4 separate regions of the Homo sapiens genome follow, and regions 1, 2 and 4 are each linked to region 3. The links are contacts of gene promoters, found by promoter capture Hi-C in blood cells and fetal thymus (Javierre and others, 2016). All regions are on one chromosome and are shown on one strand. Each heading gives the region's core, a stretch centred on a gene start or on the middle of the fragment in contact. The rest is flanking DNA. Distances are from core to core; before and after follow the strand shown.

What was found. The method cuts DNA at HindIII sites, captures the fragments that hold promoters and counts their contacts. A CHiCAGO score of 5 or more calls a contact.
Region 1: a fragment that was not itself captured here is called in contact with the fragment with the promoter of CHRM3-AS1 in region 3 in 1 of 17 cell types (naive B cells); the score reaches 13.4 in naive B cells.
Region 2: a contact is called between a fragment that was not itself captured here and the fragment with the promoter of CHRM3-AS1 in region 3, in 1 of 17 cell types (total B cells). The highest score is 8.8, in total B cells.
Region 4: a fragment that was not itself captured here is called in contact with the fragment with the promoter of CHRM3-AS1 in region 3 in 1 of 17 cell types (naive B cells); the score reaches 6.7 in naive B cells.

What each region holds. Positions count from the first base shown.
Region 1 is chr1:238,253,186-238,256,309 of GRCh38, forward strand. No RefSeq gene overlaps it. Among named protein-coding and RNA genes, the nearest start is that of LINC01139, 230 kb to the right of the region's middle. The HindIII fragment of the contact is 9,275 bases long and covers 1-3,124 here.
Region 2 is chr1:238,235,408-238,238,753 of GRCh38, forward strand. No RefSeq gene overlaps it. Among named protein-coding and RNA genes, the nearest start is that of LINC01139, 250 kb to the right of the region's middle. The HindIII fragment of the contact is 288 bases long and covers 1,124-1,411 here.
Region 3 is chr1:239,898,115-239,901,148 of GRCh38, forward strand. It overlaps CHRM3-AS1 (CHRM3 antisense RNA 1), which reads right to left and starts at 1,758. Exons shown (of 2, transcript NR_046582.1): 1 at 1,650-1,758; 2 at 1-278. The region is part of intron 6 of CHRM3 (cholinergic receptor muscarinic 3); the gene reads left to right. The HindIII fragment of the contact is 7,774 bases long and covers 74-3,034 here.
Region 4 is chr1:238,218,447-238,221,721 of GRCh38, forward strand. No RefSeq gene overlaps it. Among named protein-coding and RNA genes, the nearest start is that of LINC01139, 270 kb to the right of the region's middle. The HindIII fragment of the contact is 821 bases long and covers 1,588-2,408 here.

The DNA of each region.
Region 1 (3,124 bases), core at 422-2,921, 1.6 Mb before region 3:
GGAATGCTAATAAATGTTGGTTTCATGAATAATTCCATATATTATTGAACTTGTCCAGAAGCGATCATCCTACCAGGTGCTAGAAGAAAGTCTCATCTCCACAGACACACCTGATTCAAGCTAGTTTGAAGTTTGTATTCATACAGGACATAGGCAGTGATTTAATTTCAAACCTGAAATCTTTAGATTTGAGGTAATTTATTTTCTAAAATACAACCCATTTCTAGAAAAATCATAGCAAACTCAGAACGTATGGCAATAGGCCAAGGTCATCTTATTCAGATTTCAATCCTGTTATATTCTTGGAGAGATTTTTTTAAGTCATTTTCACTATAATACTTGTCTCAAAACTTGTAGGATCGGAGGATGTGCAGTCTGAGGCCCAAGTGAGTCCATGAGCATCAGCCTGGTTTGTTCATTCATTTGGGTTATGATGCTGCCTCGCTGAGCAATTCCTTATGGTAGGAGGGTCTAATAACCTTCACAGGCCACGGAGATGGAAATAAAGTGTAAAGCTGGAGAAAAAATCCAGTTGGCTACACAGGGGAACCAGAGTTATCAGAAGGGACAGTTAGTTTAAATATGGAGAAGACTCCTAACAAGAGGCTAGGTCGTGAATACAGATAAGACATTTTAAATAGCAAACATAACTCAGTTGTGTTAAATAATCGTAGAAATCGTTGGCTCCACTCAGAGACTAATAACTGAAACGTGTACAAGTGGTACAAGTTTCAGAGTAGTTTGATTAAGGCTCCAGCTCATATCTCCAATTCACTAGGCTCTTCCCTTGTTCTTGTATTCTTTTCACGTATATAATAAAATAGTTACAGTGGTTTCTGTTTCACTGCTACATATCACACCAGTCATAAAGAGGGTGAGCATCTGGGCTCCCAAACACAGAGAAAAGTCCTCAAACTTCACTCATTGCATCCGTTTAGATGATGGGGCTAACCCTAAATTTACTTTTGTCCAGGGGGAGTGGAGTGCTCTAATTGGCCTCACCTAGATCATGGGTTTCACATCAGAAAATATATATTTCTCCTACACATTATGAAATCCTCTATAGAAATCTGGCGTTATAGCTGGTGGTAGGGACAATGGACGGGGAAAGGCGACCAATAGGCCTCACCAAAGGTAGGGTGTCCTTCTGGATATTGAAGATATTTAATCTTTGTGGCAACTCAAGCAAACCAACCAAAATTTGCATAGTAAATATTTGTAGTTAGCCTCCAATTTGTTTGTTTACTTCTTATCAGCATTTCAAATGTCTTCCAAAGGCATTAATACAATCTTTTATCTTGTTTATCATGTTCATTTTCTAGGCACACTGCCTTTTATGAATCAAATTAAACTTCATTATGCGTCTAGTCTGTGCTCACATTCCAAATTTGTGTTGTCTCAACGAAGAAGACCTGGCTTTATTTGACACGCTAGATATAATATCCGAAGAACTAATAGAGTATAAAATGTAAACTGTCATGAAAATAGTGGCAATAGCTAACTAATTTCCAAACATCAGTTTTCAGCGTAAATATTCCTTTTTCAGAGAGATGTTTGCTAACCATTCTATCTAGGAGAAATCTCCTTCTATTATTCACATCAGTTCTTTATTTGTATGCTCATGCCACTCATCAGTGCCTTCTTCTCTAGATCACAAAGTAGCTACTTTGTTTCTTCCTTCTTTCCTTCCTTCCATCTTTTCCTAGAATGTAAGTTCCATCTGTCTTATCCATGGGCACATTTCTAGTAGTACTCAGCACAGTGCTTACCTTATAGGAGACACTCATGAATATTTGTTAAGTGAGCCTGTTGAATTACCTTTATTATGGTGTGTCCTGTGTGGCCCATGGCTATGTAGGTAATGGACCAAGACTCAGTTTTATAGGAGATAATTGTGCAGCAGAGGAAATCCAACCTGATGCGTGGGGCTGAGCCCCAGGAATGTGCTGCTCTTTGTATTTTGTTGTAACCAACTGAAACAGCCTTGGCTGACATTTGTAACTGTGAGCCTCTGAATAACACAAGTAAGTTCCTCCCAGGGGGGAAATCATATGCAAGAATGAAATGTATGATACATCTCGCCCAAACTGTTAACCACATATGAAAAGAAATCATCTCGGAAATTGGAAGTTTGTATTTGAATATTAGACACCTGTTTAATTATGGAGTGAAATGTCAAGGAAAAAAACCACAATTACTTTATACTCGGAACATAGAAAATATAGCCGAGATTTGACAGTCTCACTCCATCTGATTTTTCTATTCTGTCTTTCTCACTCCTGTCACATTTTATTTCACCATTTATCTGGAACAAATAAATGTGAAATTGCTTTCAACATTTTCCTGACCTTGTTCGGTAGATGAGTATTGAGGAAAAATGGGACTTTGGTTTTCTACATGGAATGAGCTTATTGTAGCTCTTTGTGTTACGGCAGTTCCTTTTAGGAGAATGTGTCACTCTTTATTGAATGCAAATGAGCTTCATGAGTAATGTTCAAATCCAAAAAAAGATGAATGCCAGTGGAAGCAGCTAGTGTCTCTCTATCCTTTTTTCTTTCATATATTTTGAGATTTTTGGATAGTAGAAAAGAAAAATGTTATTTTGAAATATCTCTTTTTTCTTGTAATGAGAGAAGAAAGCTAAATTCCCTGTATGTAAGAATATAAATTTGATAGAAGTAATAATTTTAAATTGGGCAGTAAATGAGCCAGTGATGTGGTGTTGTGGTTATTCTGCCTGAACTTAATAAGACTATGAAATAAAAATATCCTCCACATAATAAACTAAGAGAATTAAAGAAAGAGTTTTCCCTATTAATTCTAACATGAGTCATATGAACTAGTTAGGGCTTGACTATATAATTGCATTTACTAATGAAAAAGTGTCATAGCGTAAATCCCTTTACCTTTACTCTGTCTTGTATCTTTAGAATTTAGTTTCAATAACATCATAATACTTTACTCATACTAATGAGTGATAGAATAAGCATGCAAAATTGTATTTATACAATGGATTACAGTTTTAATTTCATTTTGTCCTCCCAGCCATTGGTAGCAGATATTATTCTTTCATTAGATTCCAAGACATTGAGAGGCAAGATGGTCAAAGACCAGCTCAAAATGA
Region 2 (3,346 bases), core at 18-2,517, 1.7 Mb before region 3:
TTCCAAGCCTCATTCTCAGTTTCTCCTGTGGCCTCACTAACTTTCCTATTCTATATCAAACATTTACATGCTTAGAATAAGACTAATAATATGTGTCCACTTATGGTGAACAAAATACACCCACCCACTCCCCCCACAACAAGAGAAGTTAATGCCCTAATCCCTGGAAACTTCAAATATGTTACCTTACAGGGCAAAAAGGACTTAGCAAATATAAATAAGGTCACAGACCTTAAAATAGGGAGAAAATCCTGGATTCTCCAGGTAGGCCATATTTAATCTGTGGAGTCATCAGAAACAGAGAACTTTCTCTGGTTCTCTGGAGTAGAAGAGACACAGCAAAAGAGGAAGTCAGAGAAATCCAAAGCATGAAGAGAACTCAGCCCTGTGCCATTGCTTGTCTGAAGATGGAGAGGTCAATGGGACAAGGAATGCAGGCTGCCTGGAGGAGCTGGGAGAGACTCCCATGTGACAACAGCAGGCAAAAAAAAAAAAATGGAACCTCAGCCTTATAACTGCAAGGAACTGAATTCTGCCAACAACCTGAATGAGCAGCTTGGAAGTGGATTCTCCCCAAGAGCCTCCAGATAAGAGCCCAGGCTGGCTGACATCCAGAGTAAGGAAATCAGTCAAGCCAATGCAGACCTCTGACCTGCAAAGTTCTGAGATTGTACATTCATGTTGTTTTAAGCTTCTAAATTTGTAGTAATTTGATACAATAGCAATAGACAATGATATGCCATTCTTAAAGGCAAAAACAAAAACAAAGAAATCCAACAACTCCAGGGCAGGCAAATCCTATGTTTCTCTTAAGGGTCATGGTTTCTTTGGGAATTATGCTTTAATTTCTAGGCATAAGAACAATATTATTTTCTTATTGGGTACCATTGCACACATTTAGAAAAAGAAGAAATGAATATGGAATATTGATGTGGTCAATGATCTTGTCTGTTATTAGATCACATTTCCAGTGGGCAGTGTGGAAGGAGGTATTGTGAGATAATAAAACCCTGATTAGTATATGAATATAATATTTACACAAAAGTTATCATTAAGGTGCAATCTCAGTGTAAATTGGAGACTAGACTGTGCCCTACCACATGAAAATGGGATATGGGCTGTAAGCTTTTATATTTCTTTGTGGCAGACACCATAATCCCATTCAGCTTCTGTATATGAAAAGTTTAAGAAGTAGAATTAGGTATGAAGACATTAAGTAAGTAAAGTGACAAAGCATTATTAGGATGCTCAAAGGGTGTTTCTCAGTGGTGAGAAGGGGATGAGTTTCAGCCAGGGATAGAGTGGAAAAGCAGACAGCCCAGTTATAACCTACGAGTCTCTTTTTTTTGGCTAGAATGGAATATACCTCCCACACCGTCAGAAATTCAAATATAACTTTTGATTCCCCTAAAGCTTTACTAATAGCCTACTGTTGACCAGATGACTTGCCAATAACATAGTCAATTAACACATATTTTTATGTGTTATGCATCGTATACTATATTTTTACAAAAATGTAAGCTAGAGAAAAGAAAATGTTACCAAGAATATCCCAAGGAAGGGAAAATACACTTACCATTCGTTAAGTAGAAGTTGAGCATCCTAAAGGTCTTCATCCTCCTTGTCTTGACATTGAGAAGGCTGAGAAGGAGGAGGAAGAGGAGGGGTTGATCTTGCTGTCTCAGAGGTGGCAGAGGCAGAAGAAAATCTGCATGTAAGTGGGCCTGCACTTTCAAACCTGTGTTGTTCCGAGGGTCAACTGTGTATATATTTTCAAAGATTTACTTTGAAAATCCTTTGTAAACTATTTGTATTGTTTTCTATGGTTTTCTTTTTTTCTTCCTTTTTGTTATTAATGAATTTTCCATTTAAAAATACCTTTTGGTGGCTGGGCACGGTGGCTCACACCTGTAATCCCAGCACTTTGGGAAGCCGAGGCGGGTGGATCATCTGAGGTCAGGAGTTCGAGACCAGCCTGGCCAACATGGCGAAACCCCATCTCTACTAAAAATACAAAAATTAGCTGGGTGCGGTGGCGGGCACCTGTAATCCCCAGCTACTCGGGAGGCTGAGGCAAGAGAATCAGTTGAACTTGGGAGGCAGAGATTGAGGTGAAGTCGTGCCACTGCACTCCAGCCTGGGCCACAGAGTGAGACTCCGTCTCAAAAAAAAAAAAGTAAAGCAATTTTCAGTGAGCTGTGGCATATAAAACAGGCAATCATTTATGAAGCTGGAGTACCAGCATGAAAGGTTAAGAAAATATAGTTTTAAAAATAATGGTCCCAAATTTACCAAGGTTAATAAAAACTGTAAAACCACAGATTCAAGAAGCTCAGAAACTCTATATAGAAAAATAACAACAAATTCAGGAGAATCACAATCAAATTTCTAAAAACTAGCAATAAAGAGAAAAGTCTTACATGTAGCTCAAGGAAAAGGACATATTACAGAAAGGGAACAGAGTTATGAATGAGAGCAGACTTATCAGGAACTAAGCAAGCCAACAGAAAATTGGGTGACACTTTCACAGTATTGAAGGAAAAATATTAACAATATGCATTGTGGGCTGTATAGCAAATATAAAAATAAAATATGCAACATAATAATACAAAAGATAGGATAGGGTGCATGGAAGTATACCATCATAAGGTTCCTAAACTGTAGTGAAATGGCTTAATATTATTTGAAGGTGGATTATGATAAGTTAAAGATGTATATTATAAACCCCAGTGCAGCTATAAAAAATAAAACGAGAAGATCTAACTAGTGAGCCCCTAGTGGAAGTAAAATGAAATCACAAAAATTACCCAATTAATCCAAAGGAAGGCAGGAACAGTGAAAAAATAAAAATTGGGCCAATAGAAAACAAATGGCGATACGATAGATTTAAATTCAATTGTATTGATAATTAAATTATATTTAAATGATTTAAATGCGCTAATTAAAAGTAGAGATTGTACGATTAGATAAGAAAGAAGTTACAAATATATGTTACCTGCAAGAAACCCAATTTATAAAGACAAAGGTAGGCTAAAAATGAATGAAAGGAAAACGAAACGTGCACACACTAATGAAAATCGGTTAGCTATATTATTATCAGACAAAACTATTTCTGTTGTATTTTCCTCTAGTTTGATCTTGAGTTCTTTCTGGAGAGTGGCAGTAAACTCTAGCCCTATGCAGAGCGTTTAGAATTTAGCCATGGAGGAGTGTACCTTTGTAGGATACTTCTTTATTCTGGTGCATGGCCTAATGCCCGTGTCTGACCAATGACCAGGCGTCTCTTTCATAGGAAGCTTGTTTAAACTGGCAGACCCTCTGGTGGCTCTTGTCCTAGCCACTCTCT
Region 3 (3,034 bases), core at 508-3,007:
CTTGCAGCTTCAAATGAATATCAAGAGCCAGGTTCACAAGTTGGATTCCCTTTAAAGACACGTTTGATTGCAAAGCTTTGTTGACTCTGTTTGATATCCTCCGCGAACTGCATGACTGAGCTAAGCTGAAGTTCCTGGTCACCAGCATGGGGAACGGGTAGCTGCTTCAGCGCCTGCTGGCAGAGAGGTCGTTCTCCGAGTCTGCTTTGCCACCTAGTGGTTTGATGTGGTATTGCCATTCACCAGGTAGTTTTAAAAGTCATTTTAGCCGTTGAATGCTATAGTGAATTATGACAGAAAACAGAGACACTCTAAGCAAAGAAGGCAGTCAGAGACCCAAAACAAGCCCTGAAAAATGACGCAGACTGGATTACAAATAGGGAAGAGGCACTAAATAGTTGGTCTGAGAAAAAACGCACGGCTGTATGTTGCAAAGATATTTTGGGTTTTTCCCATATCATCACTTAAAAAAATAATTATTATTATAGACGTAGAATTAATTTAGACTTCTAGAAAAATTTATACGCTTTTAATTGGTTCAGCAGGTTTAAAAATCGAGAGCCCTCAAACATTTTTCCCAAGTAGGTACTGCCCGGTTGGCTCAGAGGACATGAAATGAGTTTATCTCCTTGGAATTCATTATAACCAGAAGCCTCACATGTATATTGGCCTTGTCCGTTTCTGTAAGCAATCTCACATGTATTTCACACTGGATATTTACACATTTTTAAATTTTTTAAATTTACCTATATATTTCACAGACTTATAACCCCAGAAAAGTTATTTTTTGCCATAACTAGGGGGAAGAAGGCAAATTTCCTAGAACTAACCTTCAATTTCTCCTAAATTCAGTACTGTCAAACTTTTTTGTCTTTTTTCACATTTTTTGTTTCACCCTCTTCTTTTAAATATTAATAAAAGATGTCAAAATATCCACTGCAGTGGCTTTCCAACATTATTCAACACAAAATACATTGTACGTACATCATGACTATAGACATAATTTTATACGTGTGTGTATGTCGAGCAAAAATTTAATGAAGTGATATTGATTGTCATTATGTGGTATGCATTCTGATACGTCCTATTCAATTTGCTGTACATTTTTTTCTTTTTTAATTCTCATATTGGCCCACTAATTGGCTCTTGCATTTTGAACTCAGTGTGTGTGTGTGTGTGTGTGTGTGTGTGTGTATATACACACACGCATATATATCTATTGAATTTAGTGTGTGTGTATATATACATAAATACATATATACATATATAAACACATATACATATACACACATATACATATATACACACATATCTATACACATGTATGTATATGATATGTATATACATACGTATATATGTGTGTATATATACTCACACACATGTATATATACACACATACCAAGTTCAAAATGCAACAGCCAATTAGCGGACCAATTAGTGTGTGTGTGTAGTGTGTGTGTATATATATAGTAAGTTCAACATGCAATGTATATATACACTAAGTATATGTACATTGTATATAAGTAAGTATACTAAGTACATAGTATATATACACGATATAAGTACACTAAGTATATCGTATATATATACTAAGTATATATACATACACACAGATGTAACTTCCCCACAAAGGCACTGATGGTACCCACGTGCAGGATCTTGCGCAGTTTTCCACTTCTTGCCTGAGCTCTGGTGCCTGGAACACTTCAGTAACCATTCCCTGAATGTTGCACCCACAACCTGGCAGGGAGGGAGCCTGCTCTGACCCCAGAGAGGAGCCAGGCACCTGCCCCTGGTCTGCCCCTATCTGACCATGCCCTGAGCCCTCATGCAGGCTGCATTCCTAGAACTCTTGCCTGGGATTACTTATAAAGTGCGAAGGTCACTGGGCTGACAAGGATCTCTGTTCCCACCACCTGTTTATTCCTGAGCATTACAAGGAAAGACTTCCTGTAGGTCCCCTCACCAATATCATTCAATTCAATGAGTGTAGACTGTGAACTTCCTTGACTCAAAATATCCTAATGCTATGGAATAGCTGTTGAGTCAGGATGAGGAAGGAATATTAAACATAGGAATGATACCTTCTACTCAGAAAATCACCGTAAACTGAGGGCTCTTAGCCCGGGGTTATCACTGCTTCATTTGGGTCTGACCTACAGTCTTGATTCTCAGGAAGTTACATATTACCTATGAAATAATAGATATACCTGAAGTAAAACATTTGGTGACTCTCATTTCTAATAAGTACTTTTAGATATTCTTTTTTTTTTTTTTTTTTGAAATCCTTATGACCGGCTGATCACTTTCTCCTGTTGTCATCCTGGGTACCGATAGGACCTCCGTTGCTGAGCCTCCAGAGAACAGTCCTTTTAATGAGGCCGTGGCCCCAAGGCCTCGGAGAAGTTCATAGAAAATGTCTGAAAGAAGGTGGGAGGGATCTTGTTTCCTGGCCCTATAGGGACATTGTCTTCCTTGATAAAGCTGGGTACAGCCTTGATATGAATAGATTGGGGAGCACCAGGAATGTACCTCACCTGGGCTGTCGAGAAAAGACAGTGTGCTCAGAAGAGGTATGGCAGGTGCTGAATATTCCCTTGGAGGGACGAAGGCAAGAAAGGCCCCTACAGCAATGAGGGGAGAAAATCCACAACCCAAGTAGAACTAGGATTTCTTATGTGTGAGACAATACATTGCTCATTTACATGTAAAGTGTGTATAATATTTTTAATCCATCGTATTCAGGCGAGCAAGATCAGTCATTTCATTTTTGTATAACTTGCCTCGAAGCTGCCTGTTGTGGCCCCATTCTGCATAGCAAATCACCACAAACTTAGCAGCTTACAACAAGGTTCCCTGTTCAGGGTCTCAACACTGAAATCAAGGTGTTCGCCCAGCTGAGTTTACGTCTTAGGCAAGACTAAGGAAGAATTCATTACCACAGGCATTCAGGTCATCGGTGCTTCTGCCATGGTGACCTAGTGACCTCTGAGCAGCTGCCACCTCTGGGCACCAGACAGGAGGGCATGAGGCA
Region 4 (3,275 bases), core at 748-3,247, 1.7 Mb before region 3:
GAAAAAGGCTGAGTAATTCTGCAAGCTAAGTAACTTTGTAACTTTGGTGAGAAGCTTATCCTTCGTGGCCGTATTTTTTCACCTCTAAAATAAAGGAATTAGGATAGATCATCTCAGTGAGCCTTTTGGTTCTAGAATTCTAAGATTCTCAACTGAACAAAAAAGTAAACTATTAGTAGAGATTTTAGCAGTTGAATTTATACTAGGATGCAAGTGTCTTTCTAATGCTATTTACCTTTAATCAGATCCTGAATGTTTTTGTGTAAACTTTCAGGTAAAACTAAGTTGAGTCTTCAATATAACTTGGTTTGTGTGAACTTCTTACCATTATCTGTTTTTGATTTTTATATGTAAGGAAAAAAGAGAAAGAAGACAGCTTGCCTTCTCTTTATCCAGTCTCTGGAGAGAAATTAAAGTGGGCACATGAAATGCATTGATTAGTAAATATAGCCGATACCCACATATTCCAGCTGGTCTTCTCTCAGCTTCTTGTATTCCAGTTCCACTGAAAAAAAGTTTGACATTGGGTATATATGTAGTAGATTGAAAAATGGTCTCCCGAAAGATATCAGGTCCTAATCCCTGGAAACTATCTGTTACCTTACTTGAGATACAGGGTCTTTGCAGATGCGATTAAGCTAAGGATCTTGAGATGGGGCAAGTGTTCTGGATTATCCTAGTGGGTCCTGAATGCCATCACAAGTGTCCTTATAAGAGAGAGGCAGGCTAGATTTCATAGACAGATGAGAAAAAGGCAATGTGAAGATAGAGGCAGAGATTGGGCTGATGTGGCAATGCAACAAGACATAGCAACAGCCACCTGAAGCTGGAAGAAGCAGGCAACAGATTTTCCCCTCAGTCCTCCTCAGAGACCATGCAGAGACAAAGCAAGAGACTTGAAGATTGGAGTGATGTGGTACAGACGAAAAGAATGCTGGAAGTCACCAGAACTGAAAGAAAGCAAGGGGATGGACAGAGCCTCTCCTAGACCTCTGAAGAGAGTGAAGCCCTGCAGACACCTGGATTTCAGCCCAGTGATACTGATTCCAACTTCAAGTCCCAGAATGGTGAGAGAATAAGTTTCTCTTAAAAACTAAATTGGTGATTGTTTGTTACAAAAGCCGTGAAAAACTAACACTGTGTGTAGAGAAACAAGTGATTCAAAAGGTTAGACAGAGGGCAGATGCTGAGACATGGTGGTATCCCAAGCAAATTCCCAATCCCTAACTCTATACTAGAACCGACAGAACACCTGGGACTAACTCAAAGGGGAAAGTAAGGACCTGGATCAGCTGGAAGGACCCTTTCTAATTGCAGATGTGTTGCGAATTTTGTTTCTGAAGAGTTCCAATAGTTGAGAGAACTCTCTGTAGAGCAACAGACTTCAGTAGTCTATGGGGGTAGTGGGGATGGGACTGTCAGGAAGAATGCTTTTGGAGACCAGACTGAGAAGCTTTTTTCACTATGTTTTTAGAAAGAAGAGTCTGACCCAAATTCTTAAAAAAAATCAGAATAGATTTGCCAAATTTCTTTATGTGTCTGGGACTATGTGAAATGTACGTAAGTAGATTTACATTTGCGGAATCAAGCTTTCTATTACTTAAAAGCTGCAGCAAATACCCTAAATGAAGACATATAAATAATCATTTGGTGATATGATAGAGACTGTTAGTTGTTTACCAAAATCTAAAACGAATCTATTTCTTCTACTGGAATACGAATAGATTACATTTCCCTGCTTCAACTGAACTTAGATGTGAGACCCAACTCATGTCATTGAGTTCTACTGAGTGGATGCAGATCAAGATAAATAGTAGAAGGAGAAGAGATCAGGAGAAGACACACAAAATGACAGTCATTTCCACTCAGATTCTATTAGATAGAACTCAAAGATGATGGAGCCACAGGTGGATGAGATGTAGGTCTCTAAATCACCATTTGGAGCAAAACCACTGATGACCTGGAAAACCTGCAGCAGAGTATCGTAAAATAATAAATTTCTATTGTAATAAGACACACAGGTATTTTAGGTTCATTTGCTGCTACAGTCTTGCCTAATATACAGAAATAGGCATTTTTATATAAGCCGCTGCTCTAACAATAACAATATGGATAACTGAAAGTGGAAATGGATATCATACTCTGAAAAGTTGACAAAGTTTGGTCTAATGTTTAGTAAAACAGTCACGTGTACTAACTTGCAAGGCAGGCTGGGTGACTCTAGGAGAAGTGGTTGGAAAGTGTAGTATGGACTTTTACTTTTTACTTTAGTAAGGCATTACATCTAAGGTGAGGTGAAGTGGGAATTTGCAGGTTTGTGGAAGAAGAAATAAAGAGTAGAGATATTTGGGGCCTTACACAATTGGAAAACAAAGTACTTTGAACTTCCAAACAGTGGGAGTTAAGGAAGCTTTCTCTCTTTACCAGCCTATGTTTTAGATGGTTTTAAAGTAGCTGCCATTAAGGTGAGAACTAGAAAGGTAGAGATGGGGCAAAAAAAAATCAGGATAATAGAGAAGACCTATTATCTTTTTCCAGAAAGGTAATTTGATTATGGATAATGAAACATGGAACTGATTGGAAGCACAGAGGAAATCTACTAAACTTTAGAGGGATTCACATTGCTAAAGAGACCACAAGCCTGGCTTTAAAATCTTGTGACTGCTTAAGCCTTAAAATAATCTGTAGGCCTTTGTACTTGCACAGGGTCACTTAGAGACATCATGAAAATGCAGATTCCCGGCCTCAACCACCAAGGATACTACGTGGCACATGAAAAATGCTGCCCTTCTCACCCCAAAGATGTCCAGAACCTAATCCCCAAAACTGTGACCATGTAATATATAATATGTAGTAATTTATTTTTAATTTCTCCCAAACCTCCAATATTCAAAAACTAAACTAACCTCTTCTTTTTTTTTCTTTTTTCTTTTTTTTCTTTTTTTTGAGACGGAGTCTCGCTCTGTCACCAGATTGGAGTGCAGTGGCATGATCTCGGCTTACTGCAACCTCTGCCTCCCAGGTTCAAGTGATTCTCCTGCCTCAGCCTCCCCAGTAGCTGGGATTATAGGCACCTGTTGCCGCACCCAGCTAATCTTTATATTTTTAGTAGAGACGGGATTTCACCATGTTGGCCAGGCTGATCTTGAACTCCTGACCTCAGGTGATTTACCTGCCTCGGACTCCCAAAGTGCTGGGATTACAGGCATGAGCCACCGTGCCTGGCCACTAATCTCTTCCTTATACCTGTAACAGCTCTGTGCCAACTACATGCA